Regions from separate parts of the Homo sapiens genome. Here regions 2 and 3 are each linked to region 1. Evidence: promoter capture Hi-C in 16 types of primary human blood cells and fetal thymus (Javierre and others, 2016). All regions are on one chromosome and are shown on one strand. The core of a region is centred on a gene start or on the middle of the fragment in contact, and the rest is flanking DNA. Distances in the headings are between cores, read along the strand shown.

The links. Contacts are between HindIII fragments. The CHiCAGO score rates a contact against its expected background, and 5 or more counts as called.
Region 2: a fragment that was not itself captured here is called in contact with the fragment with the promoter of VWA1 in region 1 in 1 of 17 cell types (M1 macrophages); the score reaches 5.0 in M1 macrophages.
Region 3: a contact is called between the fragment with the promoter of TNFRSF18 here and the fragment with the promoter of VWA1 in region 1, in 8 of 17 cell types (neutrophils, erythroblasts, naive CD4 T cells and 5 more). The highest score is 10.7, in neutrophils.

The regions. Positions count from the first base shown.
Region 1 is chr1:1,434,295-1,438,552 of GRCh38, forward strand. It overlaps VWA1 (von Willebrand factor A domain containing 1), which reads left to right and starts at 1,396. Exons shown (of 3, transcript NM_022834.5): 1 at 1,396-1,527; 2 at 2,633-3,190. The coding sequence starts at 1,455. It overlaps LOC107985729, which reads left to right. Exons shown (of 4, transcript XM_017003066.2): 3 at 1-108; 4 at 242-1,255. The coding sequence ends at 856. It overlaps LINC01770 (long intergenic non-protein coding RNA 1770), which reads right to left and starts at 279. Exons shown (of 2, transcript NR_125996.1): 1 at 1-279. RefSeq lists silencers at 155-449, 1,196-1,565, 1,324-1,513 and enhancers at 307-1,050, 310-369. The HindIII fragment of the contact is 8,860 bases long and covers 1-3,499 here.
Region 2 is chr1:1,582,720-1,586,533 of GRCh38, forward strand. No RefSeq gene overlaps it. Among named protein-coding and RNA genes, the nearest start is that of SSU72-AS1, 9.7 kb to the left of the region's middle. The HindIII fragment of the contact is 1,469 bases long and covers 849-2,317 here.
Region 3 is chr1:1,204,074-1,208,160 of GRCh38, forward strand. It overlaps TNFRSF18 (TNF receptor superfamily member 18), which reads right to left and starts at 2,519. Exons shown (of 5, transcript NM_004195.3): 1 at 2,312-2,519; 2 at 1,297-1,419; 3 at 326-413; 4 at 1-163. The coding sequence starts at 2,498. RefSeq lists a silencer at 1,102-1,302. The HindIII fragment of the contact is 24,444 bases long and covers 1-4,087 here.

The DNA.
Region 1 (4,258 bases), core at 146-2,645:
CTGGCGAGGCCCCTCGAAGTGGTACAGCTTGCACTCTGGGGACCCAAAGTCCCCCCACCGGGCCCAGGCGGAAGCACCAGGCATTTCTGGTCCCAGCCGAGGTCTGAGGTCTGTGGAGCGCAGCCAGCACCTCCACTGCCAAGATCCCCGGCAGGGGGGGTGGGGGGCGCCGGCGGGGACACAGCTCTCCCTTGTTCCTGCCGCCAGCTCCTCAGCCTCAGCCTGCTGCTTCCTTTTTTAGGCAAAGTCGAGTGCTGGCCGTCCGCACGGCCCCGCGGTGTCTCACCTGCCTGAAAGGGAGGAAGGAAGCCTGTGGAGCCCCATCCGTTCTCCCGCGGCGCATCCTCCAGGAGAGGGTGGGGAAGGAGGAGACATCCTGGCAGACACCCCCCCACGTCCCCCACCTCCCAGCTCTGAGCTGAGGAGGCCCTGGAAGAGGGCCATGGCTACTCCGAGGGAGGGCCGGGGTAGGGTTCTCCTGTCCAGGGGACACTGCTGGCCCAGCCCCACCCAAGCAGGGGAAATCTGCCCTGGGAGCCACTGTCCCTCAGGACGCCCCCTGCAACCAGCCACCTCTCGTCTGGGCCTCACCAAGACCCCAAGACTCAAGAGCTCCTGTCTCACCAGTGGGACCCTCCAGTCCTGCTGGGGGTGTGTCCTGGGTCCTGGAGTCTGGGCCCCTCACTGGGTAGGGTATATGGGTAACAGGCCCAGTGTGGTCCCACTGGACAGGGCCTCAACCAACCATCTCCCACTCCCATGCCTCTTCCTCCAAGAAGCCCAGGTGGCGTGGGTGCTTCGAGTCTCTCTCGAATTCCTGTCTTCTGTCCCCTTTCAAGCCACTGTGTCCTTGTAAGTTCCACCCCATGGTCCTTCCCATCCCTGCTGGTCAGTCCCTGGGATACATGTCCTGTTACTCCAGACACCTATCCGCCTCCAGCGCGGAGGCCAAGGCGAAACCACGGTCTGGACGTGTTTTTTTGGTGCCACCGCCAGCCCCTGGGGTTCTCTTGGGCCTGGCTGCTGGGACCCCAGCACCCAGAGTCACGGCAGTGGTGGGCATGGGGAGGGCCTAGCCTGGTACCTCCCTGCTCGGCTCCCGCGGCTGGGGGTCGGAGAGGGGTGGAGAGCGTGGGCCGCACAGCCTCGGCCGGGAGAGGGAGACTGGAGTGTGTGTGTGTGCGTGCCTGCGCGTGCGTGCCTCGGTCGTATCTCGGCTGGTGCTGCGTGTCCCTGCGTGTCGGGGTCCGCTCGTGCGCGCCTCTCCGGGGTCTGTGCGCGTGGCCCTCCGCTCGCGCCGGAGGGCGTGGGCGTGGCCTCGGCGTGGGTGTGGCCGCTCGGGGAGGGGCCTCCCGGGGGCGGGGCCGGCCTGGTCCGCGCGGTGACGCGCCCTGCAGCCCCGAGCGAGCGAGCGAGCGAGCGAGTTGCCGAGCGCGCCCCGTCCCTCGCGCGCGATGCTCCCCTGGACGGCGCTCGGCCTGGCCCTGAGCTTGCGGCTGGCGCTGGCGCGGAGCGGCGCGGAGCGCGGTGAGTGCGGCGGGCGGCCGGGCCGGGGCTGGGGCTTCTGGTGACCGCTCTGCGCCGCTGCCCGCGCAAGGCCGTCGCTGTCCCCTGCTCCGGACGGGCGGGCGGGCTGGGAGGCTGCGGGAGCCGGGCGGGGGCGCGGGCGGAGCGTCCTGCTCACCTGAGGCTGGCGGCCCAGGTGCTCCAGGCGACACCGTCCGTGAGCGCCGGGGCATAGGGGCCGTCCCGGCCCGCATCTCTGCGGGATCGCGGGCCTGGACAGGAAGAGGGAGATGTCTGTCAAGGGGGCACCCCTGCCTCAGTTTCCCTACCCTTGCGAGGGCCCTTAGTGGAGGGATGGTAGGGAAGTTGGAGTCGCCCCACCGCACTGGGGAAAACCGCAAGGCCGGGACTAGAATTGAGGCACGCTGGTGCCCTGGCTTGGTGGGGAGGGGCGGTGTAGGGGGCATCAGCCTCCACCCCGGAGGTGCCCGGAGGAAGGGGGAAGCCTGCGAGGGGCTGTTCCGGCTTTCAGGCTGCTGGGGGTTATATCTTGTTGTGTGAGTCCAGGTGGGCTGGAGGATGGAGGCCAGGGGAGGGGCCACCATCTAGTAAGCGGGGTCTGGGCTCCAGCCAGGCCATCCGGCGTGGTCATTGCTGTGCCTCCGACACCTTCCCCTGCTGCTGTGTGCATGCCCAGGGTGCCTCACCTGCAGGCTGAGCTGCGTGGCTGAACTCCAGCCTCAGGCTGCTCCTCTGAAAGCCATGCCTGGAGGGAACAGCCCCACGGCTCAGGCCTGTCCTGGGGGCCTAGGCCAGGACTCTTGGCTCCACCTGCTTGCAGGGTCTGTGAGGAATGGGAAGGTGTGGGGGCTTGGAGCGGAGAGTCGCCCTCTCACAGATGGGATAACACAAGCCCAGAGAGAGCCCTAGATCCCATGGCCAGTGTGCAGTGAAACCCCCAAAAGTACAGGCCTCTTGCTTAGAGTTCCTCTTTCCCCCAACCTAGGACCTTTGGGAGAAGGCAAGCATCCACTTAAGGAAAGCTGGGGCCCTGGGGGACCCTGCCTTGCTGTGGGGCTGTCTGGGGGGCCCACACCTGAGGCTGAGCATTCCTCCTTTCCCCCAGGTCCACCAGCATCAGCCCCCCGAGGGGACCTGATGTTCCTGCTGGACAGCTCAGCCAGCGTCTCTCACTACGAGTTCTCCCGGGTTCGGGAGTTTGTGGGGCAGCTGGTGGCTCCACTGCCCCTGGGCACCGGGGCCCTGCGTGCCAGTCTGGTGCACGTGGGCAGTCGGCCATACACCGAGTTCCCCTTCGGCCAGCACAGCTCGGGTGAGGCTGCCCAGGATGCGGTGCGTGCTTCTGCCCAGCGCATGGGTGACACCCACACTGGCCTGGCGCTGGTCTATGCCAAGGAACAGCTGTTTGCTGAAGCATCAGGTGCCCGGCCAGGGGTGCCCAAAGTGCTGGTGTGGGTGACAGATGGCGGCTCCAGCGACCCTGTGGGCCCCCCCATGCAGGAGCTCAAGGACCTGGGCGTCACCGTGTTCATTGTCAGCACCGGCCGAGGCAACTTCCTGGAGCTGTCAGCCGCTGCCTCAGCCCCTGCCGAGAAGCACCTGCACTTTGTGGACGTGGATGACCTGCACATCATTGTCCAAGAGCTGAGGGGCTCCATTCTCGGTATGCGGGAGGAGGCAGGGCCCAGGGAGCCCTAGCTGGGAGCCGCAGAAGGAGAGGCTGGGTTGAGACTTTGGGAAGATCTCATGTCCCCAGAGCAGCGGCCAGGGCCTCCGGGGCTGTGGTACCCCTAGGGTGCAGGGCTGAGTGATGCAGCTTGTCTATGCACACTCTTCACTGGGCGACCCGTGTACCCTGCTGAGACGGGGGCAGGCTTGAGTAGCCACCTCCAGGTGTAGCTCCCTGCTGATGTGTCCAGCCCAGACCTCGAGGCCCCAGGGAGTGCAGAGCCCGGGTGTAGGCCCAGGAAGAAGCTTCCAAGTCTGGGGACTCTGCAGATGGGCAGCATGTGCTCCTGAGCATGCCCACCATACCTGGAGAGGGGTGAGCCAGAAAGGTCAGGGACTGCCCCCCCAGAGAGCACAGGGCACCTCTCCTGGGTGGGGACAGCCGCCGAGGGCTTTGAACTAGTTCGGACTGCAGGCCCACTGTGAGGGTTTCCTGAGAGGCCGGACCAGGGAAGGCCTGAGGCAGGAGCTGAGCAGCTCCCATTGGCTTTTTTTCTGGACCTCCCTGCCCCAGCCAAGCCCTGAAGGAGCTGGGGCTGGAGATGAGGAACCGGCCACTGGCTCAGCCTGCTGCAGCCACTGAAAAATGCCAACCCTGGGGATCTCACCAAGTCTCCGTCTGTGGGTTAATCATCCACCCAGAGCCGGAAGGGGTTGGACTGTGGGTTGGAGAGGGGTGGACGGCCCTCCCCAAGGTTTCCCCAGGGACGTCTGGCCCCTAGTGGCCCCAGGTCACCCAGTGCAGCTGCGCCTGGAGGGGACCAGGAGGAAAGGCTGCCTTAAGCAGCCAAAGGAAAAGCCTGAGGCTGCAGTGCCGAGGGGCCAGGCAGCAGGGTGGGGGCTCCTGGGAAAGAGGCCGGGTCTGAGGGTGGGGGATGGGAAGAAAGTGGCCCAGGCACCCAGCACTGCAGGAGGAAGATCCTGATAGCTTTAACCCAGCGCAGACATTTATGAGCCTCGCCACAGCAGGGTCACTCAGAGGGCTATGTGGGGCTTGGTGTCA
Region 2 (3,814 bases), core at 333-2,832, 150 kb after region 1:
CCTTCAGACTAGGCAGAGTGAGGTCCCCTGAGAGAGATAAATATTGTTATTTCCCCACCCAAAGTTATTTGCATTAGGTGAAAAATGGCCACACATTCTTTGTGGTTCCTCTCATCAAGACATACGGTCTCTTTCTCATCCCTTGAATCCGGGCAAAGCCTTGTGATTTGCTCTGATCAAAAGAACTTAGTAGAACTGACGTTGTCCCAGCCCCAGTTCCAGGCCCAGAACCCAAGAAATCTTGCAGCTTCTACTCTCACTCTCCTGGAGCCCTAAGGCTGAAGCAGCCTGCTAGACAGGCCACCCCAACCAACAACCTGTCACCTGCCAGACAAGTGAGTCAGGCTGTCCTAGACCATCCAGGTGTAGCGGATGTGACAAATGACCACAGCTCCATGAGGGTCCGCAGGTGAGCCCAGTGCAGATTGCCAACCCACAGAATTGTGGACAAATACGTGACCTGTTTTTGCTGCCAAATTTTGGGATGGTCTGTTACACAGTGAAGGCTAGCTGATACGCAGTTCCTCATTTCTCCTCTGGTGATGAGATCCACTTTCATTTCAGGAGGCAGTGTGCCAGTCTCAGTAGATGGAACACAATCCACAATCGGTCTATTCAACCATGACAATTTTATTCCCTACTGTTGGGGAAGTGTCTCGAGTCAGACCCTCCCCACCAAGTGCAAAGAGAACGCATCTCAGCTATCCCTTCTGCCAGCCCAGCCTACGGGGGCCAGATGTATCTTCTGGGCTCTTAGAAGTGTCAGTCGGTGCCATGGGGACTGCTCCTACAAGTCTGGCGTGGATGCCCCCAGGTACACCCTGAGGTCCGAGAGGGTGGACTGCACAAGCTTGTCCAGGATGGCCCTTGCTGCAGCTACCGGTAGGCTGCGTGCCAATAACAGCCGCCAAAGGAGTAGAAGTAATCACCAACCTGGGTCCCTTTGATCCAGGACATCCGTGGGGCACACTGTCTGGGTCTTCCTAGGTCATGTCCACGAGGTTCTGCGTCTCGGCTGGGCCCAGCACAGATGGTGGCAGCTACGTGAGCAGCTCAGTGGCACGCCGTGCACCTGGGAATGCAGCCCGACTGGGCACTCCCGCCCTGCACACCGTTGCAGGGCCTGGGACCCGGGGCTGCCCCAGCCCACATCCACCCTGCCCGATCGATGCTCCTCCTGCACACAGCCCCGTTACCACTGCCACTGCCCCAAAGCATAAAAATTTTTTTTTTTTTTTTGAGATGGAGTTTTGCTCTTGTTGCCCAGGCTGGAGTGCAATGGCATGATCTCAGCTCACCACAACCTCTGTCTCCCGGGTTCAAGCAATTCTTCTGCTTCAGCCTCCCGAGTAGCTGGGATTACAGGCATGCGCCATTAATTTTGTATTTTTAGTAGAGATGGGGTTTCTCCATGTTGGTCAGGCTGGTCTCAGACTCCAGACCTCAGATGATCCGCCCGCCTCGGCCTCCCAAAGTGCTGGGATTACAGGCGTGAGCCACCGCGCCCGCCAATTAATTTTTTTTTTTTTTTTTTGAGACGGAGTCTCGCTGTGGCCCAGGCTGGAGTGCAGTGGCGCAATCTCAGCTTACTGCAAGCTCCATCTCCCAGGTTCACACCATTCTCCTGCCTCAGCCTCCCGAGTAACTGGGACTACAGGCACCCACCACCACACCCGGCTAATTTTTTGTATTTTTAGTAGAGACGGGATTTCACCGATTAGCCAGGATGGTCTCAGTCTCCTGACCTTGTGATCCACCCACCTCAGCCTCCCAAAGTGCCAGGATTACAGGCGTGAGCCACCGTGCCCGGCCAGTTTTGGGGTTTTTTTGTTTTTGTTTTTGTTTTTGAGACAGCGCCTTGCTGTGTCGACCAGGCTGGAGTGCAGTGGCATGATCTTGGCTCAGTGCAACCTCTGCGTCCCGGGTTCAAGCAATTTTCTTGCCTCAGCCTCCTGAGTAGTTGCAATTACAGGCGTGTGCCACCACGCCTGGCTAATTTTTTGTATTTTTAGTAGAGACGGGGTTTCACCATGTTGGCCAGGCTGGTCTCGAACTCCTGACCTCGTGATCCTCCCACTTTAGCCTCCCAAAGTGTTGGGATTACAGGCGTGAGCCACCGTGCCTGGCCACCCATCAGTTTTAAAATGTGCCTGAGTTAGAGCAGAACAGAAGCTGAGAAAAATTAAAAAGAAAGATAAATAAGTACAGTTTGCCCAAGTTGGGCCATAATATAGCCTGCTGGAGAACCAAAAAATCTGCTGTGACTTAATGTTTGAGAATCCCATTTCATTTCTTCTTATTTTCTGAAGAGCAAAGAAGCTTCCATAGATCCTATCAGGAATTGTCAAGCACATGGACCACTGTTTCAGATGGTGGCGACAGACCCAGTAACTTTCGTTGTTGTTTTGTTTTCTTTTGAAACAGAATCTCACTCTGCAGTCCAGGCTGGAGTGCAGCGGTGCAATCTTGGCTCACTGCAACCTCTGCCTTGTGAGTTCAAGCGATTCTCCTGCCTCAGCCTCTAGACTAGCTGGGATTACAGGTGCATGCCACCATGTCCAGCTAACTTTTTTTGTTTGTTTATTTGTTTGTTTGTTTGTTTTGAGACGGAGTCTTGCTCTATTGCCCAGGCTGGAGTGCAGTGGTGCAATCTCGGCTCACTGCAAGCTTCACCTCCCGGGTTCATGCCATTCTTCTGCCTCAGCCTCCCAAGTAGCTGGGACTACAAGTGCCCGCCACCACGCCTGGCTAATTTTTTTTTTGAGATGGAGTCTCGCTGTGTCGCCCAGGCTGGAGTGCAATGGCGCAATCTCAGCTCACTGCAAGCTCTGCCTCCCAGGTTCACGCCATTCTCCTGCCTCAGCCTCCCAAATAGCTGGGACTACAGGCACCCGCCACCACGCCCGGCTAATTTTTTGTATTTTTAGTAGAGACAGGGTTTCACCGTGTTAGCCAGGATGGTCTCGAACTTCTGACCTCGTGATCCACCTGCCTCGGCCTCCCAAAGTGCTGGCATTACAGGTGTGAGATACCGCGCCCAGCCAAGACTCTTTTTTTAAAAACAAACAAGCAAACAAAAATTATCTGGACATAGTAGAACCAGCCTGTGGTCCCAGCTACTGAGGAGGCTGAGGTGGGAGAATCGCTTGAGCCTGGGATGTTGAGGCTTCAGTGAGCCAACACTGTGCCACTCCACTCCAGCCTGGGCAACACAGAGAGACCATGTCTTAAATAATAATAATAATAATAATAATAATAAAATGCAATTTTAAAAAGAGGGAAGCACAGCCACAGAAGATTCTCCAAGGCAGAGCATGCGAACCACGGAAGCAGAGAGCCCATAGGGCTCGGCGAGCATGGGGCACTGGCTCCAAGAACCGCCAGTTCCTTCTTAAAGTGACCTTCCTTCAGGTCCTGTTTCAGAGCATCATTTATGTCAAACTAAATAACAGAGAGGGGTTCTCTAGCAGAAAATGATATTTATTCGAAGAGGACAGCCAGAAGAGGAAGAGGGCAGGGAGGCGACCAGGATGACCAGCTGCAGAGAGGAGTACCTTCTCCTCTGTCCTCCGCTGAGAGCTGCCCAGACAACCTGTCAGCAGAGAGGAGCTACCTCTACCCTGTCTGTGGAGAGCCTGAGACCTGCGGAGACATCCAAACGACTTCCTGTGGAGAGGAGCCGCCCTCTCCAGCCTCCTGTCTGCCAAGAGCTCAACACTCACCGGGAGGATGCTGTTCTCACATTAAATAAACTCTTCTTTTTCTTTTTTGGGACGAGGTCTCACTCTGTCACCCAGGCTGGAGTGCAGTGGCG
Region 3 (4,087 bases), core at 1,269-3,768, 230 kb before region 1:
CAGTCCAAGCTGGGCCGAGGTCAGGAGGAGGACGCAGGCGGCCACGGCCAGGAGGACGACGGTCAGCCACCCAAGCGGCTCTGCCGGCGGGGACCCTGGGACGCACACAGCGTTGTGGGTCTTGTTCCCAGGGAACACAGTGAGAAACCCGAACTGGGTGCAGCTGGAATACATGGACGCGGCCTCCTATCAGCCCCCGGACACGGCCTCCGATCAGCCCCCGGCTGCTGCCCTCCGTGCTGTCTGGGGCAAGGGACAGGAGAGGACCCTTCCTCAGAGTGGGCCTGGACCACCCGGCCACCGGCAGGGCCCACCCAGGACTCACTCTGTCCAAGGTTTGCAGTGGCCTTCGTGGCCCCCGGAGAAGGTCCCCGAGGCACAGTCGATACACTGGAAGCCAAAACTGAATTTCCCTGGTGTGGGGTGTGGGGGGAGGGAGGGAGGGAGGCTGGTGGAGTTGCTGGGATGGATGAGGAGGGCGTCAGGCCAGTGCAGGGGTCCATCTGGGGTCTGGGTGCTGAGTAGAATGCCCCCCCCATCATCCATTCAACAGAGTTCTTCATGGCCCAGGACTGGGGCCCATGTCTGCCCGTCCCAGGTGGGGCGTCTGGGGTGGGGCCCAGTGAGGGCACCTGGGGGAGGTGCGCAGAGTGCAGTGGGCCTGCCAGGGAGGGGAAAGGCCTGCCCATTGGGGGCTGAGGGTGGGCAGAAGCCAGGCAGGACCCAGTAGAACAGAGGGTGGAGAACAGTGAGGGTCCCAGAGAGAGTGAGGCTGGGTCCCAGTTGACCCCAGACCCTGCCCCGTCCAACCTGACACAACCTCCCCAGTTGTACCTTCTCCCAGCTCTCATGTGCCCAGCCTGACCTCTCCTGTCAGGTAAACAAGCCGCTAAGAGGACTTGAGCTGCTCCTTCCAGAACAGGGTGCAGCCCCAGGCCCCAGACAGGACTCCGGGGGGCACAGGGCAGGCTCTTTCAGTATGTGGTGAGGACAGACAGGATGGGTGTCCCGGGCCTGAGAGCCAGACAGCTCCTGGAACCCGCCCCCACCTCCCCGCAGGGTTCTCACAGCCCTCGTGCTGGATGGAGAAGCCCAGGCTGAGAAAGCAGGGACAGGACACCCCCAGAGCTTCATGGCCTGTGGTGCCTGAGCATGGCCTGGCCTGCCCGGCCTCACAGGACTCCGGACCCCACACACCACATGTCCTCGCCGGACACCTGTGCCCACGAGCTCTGCCTCGGGCCCTAGTGGAACCCCTGGCCTGTGTGGACTCCCAGAGGCACCTCCAGGACTTACCCTGGGACTGTACCCCCTGGCCTGGGGGACAAGGGTGGTGCCGGCAGGTCGTGCAGCAAGGGTCTCCGCAGTGGAATTCAGGCTGGACACACATGCAGTCCCACTCGGAACAGCACTCCTCGCCTGGGCAGGAGACAGGCCAGCCCCCCAGCAGCTGGGCTGAGGCCCCCTCCTCCCCAGGCCTCCCCTCGGCCCTCCAGGGGAGTGAGGTTGTCCGTTCTCCACCCACAGTTGGCTCCAGGGAGCAGAGGGCTCCTGGCTGGGAGTCTGGACCCTGGGTTTATCCAGCTGTCTCTTTCTCCTGGGGCCATGTGGCCTGGCTACTCCCCCTTTGCGCCCCACAGCTGCCCCTGCCCAGGTGCTAACTCCATATGCAACCAGGAGCTGCCCCTGCAGGACCCAGGGGTGGCCCCCAACAGTGCACAGTCCCCTGGAGGCCCGTCGACACCTCAGAGGCCGCCTGCCTGGTGTCTGGGCGCTGCTGTCCCCACCACCAGCCACACTGGGCCTCCGGACAGAGCCTCCCTTCCCAACCCACAGGCCCTGGAGGAAGAAGCTCTGGGGTGACTTCCCTGCCAGCTTCCTCTCCAGACCAGCCGTGTCAGCTGAACCCTCATCCCCAGGTGCAGGTCAGAGGCAGGCAGCAGGCCAGACGGTGGTGCAGGGGGGCCCTCAACTGGGCAGGAGGGGGCTGGGCGATGGCCAAGGGCTCACGACCCGCCCAGCAGGACCTGGAACAGCCGTCCTCCACCTCCAGACCCCAGACCCCTCTTGAGGGCGCTCCCACCTGGCTCACCCCTGCTCCCGGCCGGGGCCACTGGCTGGAGCTGGCACACCTCCGCCTCCCTCTGGGATCCTGCCTCCCTCCGGAAGGCTCCCGCTGCTGGCGGCTCTGTGCCCACCCTCCTTAGACCTCAGCAACGCCGGTCTGAGCACGGGAAGGGGGGCGCCCACCCATCCCGGCTTCCGCGGGACGCCTTGGCCGGTCCGCGTTAAGTAAACGCGGTTTACTTACCCGGGTAATCGCGGCAGCAGCGCGTCGTGTGAACCCGGCAGCAGCGCGCGTCCGTTCCCGTCCCAAGCAGGAGGCGCCCAGGGCCGCACCCGGGACCCCCGGTGGGGCGCTGACCCAGGCTGAGCGCGCACAGCAGCGCCAGGCCGCACAGGGCCCGAAACGCGCCCATCGCCCCGTGCTGTGCCATGCTCGGGTTTCAAGAGCCCACAGCCAGTTGGACACGCCCCGTCCCCGTCCTCACCCGCCCTGCCCGGAGGTGGCTGGGACCGTTCATGACCTGAGAATCCCGACCCAGGTGAAGTGCGTGTGAGGAGGGGGTGTAGACACTGCGGACACAGCCCGGTCCCCCGCAGGTCGCCGGCAGGGGCGGGGAAACCAGGCTGGCGGGGATCAGAAAGGTTTTCTATGCAAAGTCTGCGGCCACATTGGTGTCCCCAGTGCAGGGGGCGGCGTTTATAGCACCTTGTCCCATGGGGGCCCCTTGGAGGGCGGGGGTCAGCCAATCACTCCTCCATCCCACTGCCTCCGGGTGGTATCTGCGAGTCCCCGAGAGGTCTCCACAAATTCTGGCCACCCCCAGAGAGCCTCAACCATGGAGCCCCGTGCTGGGGAACCCCACAGAATGGGGACAGGGACCCCTCGGCTCAGCACACCCCACCTGGCTGGCTTCAGGTGTGAAACTCACCATGGGCTGCAGGCCTGTGGGCTCCCCTCCCCCTTGCTTGCAGCTCTCCAGGACCCCCCTCAGGCCAACCTGGGAAGTTCCCCGGGGCTTGGGAGGGGCACCAGGAGGAGCTGGTGGGGAGACGAGAGGGTGCTGGCGCCTCCTCGGGACAGTGTCAGCCGCCCCCGCGGGCACCCAGGGCCCGGTCTCTCAGAGCCACCTTCATCCGTCACACCAGACAGATCCAGGTCCCGGAGGGAGTTGAGGAGGAGCCCCTCGCAGAGCTCTTGGGAGACTGTCCTATGTCTTTCTGAGCCTCAGTTTCCCCTGTGGGCACCGAGGGGTTCTGGGACCCTGCCTCCACCAGGAAGCCTCCCTGGATTGCCCAGCCCTGCTTCTGCGCCGTCCAGCACAGGTGGAGACCCCCATGAATGCTGGGGGTGGGGGCTCTCGGGAACGTGAGCGTGGATGTGGTTCAACACCCTTTTGAGACCTGCAGCCACCGCCTCACCCCGTAAGGCGGTTCCTCCTTTTCCAAGGTAAATGACAGGAATTAGCTGTTTGTGACACCCCGGAGTTCTCAAATCCAAGATGTAGGAGCCTGCCTTGGAGAGGCAGCCCTCAGACACTGCAGAGAAGGAAGGGGTCTCTGCAGCTCCAGGCCGCCCCGACGCTCGGAAGGAAAGGGGTGGGGCCAGCTGGGCCTGGGGGCCTTTGAGAGGCCTGGAGATCTTCAGCCCCGAGGCTGGGAGGGGGTCTGGGCCCCTGGATAGAAAGAGGCGCCATCAGTGGCTCACGCCCGTAATCCCAGCATTTTGGGAGGCCGAGGTGGGCCTCGGATCACCTGAGGTCAGGGGTTCGAGACCAGCCTGACCCACATGGAGAAAGCCCGTCTCTACTAAAAATACAAAAAAAATTAGCCAGGCGTGGTGGCGCACGCCTGTAATCCCAGCTACTCGGGAGGCTGAGGCAGGAGAATTGCTTGAACCTGGGAGGCAGAGGTTGCGGCGAACCAAGATGGCACCATTGCACTCCAGCCTGGGTGACAGAGCGAGACTCCATCACAAAAAATAAAGAATGCTCATCAGACCACACGGTGTGAGTCATCCATC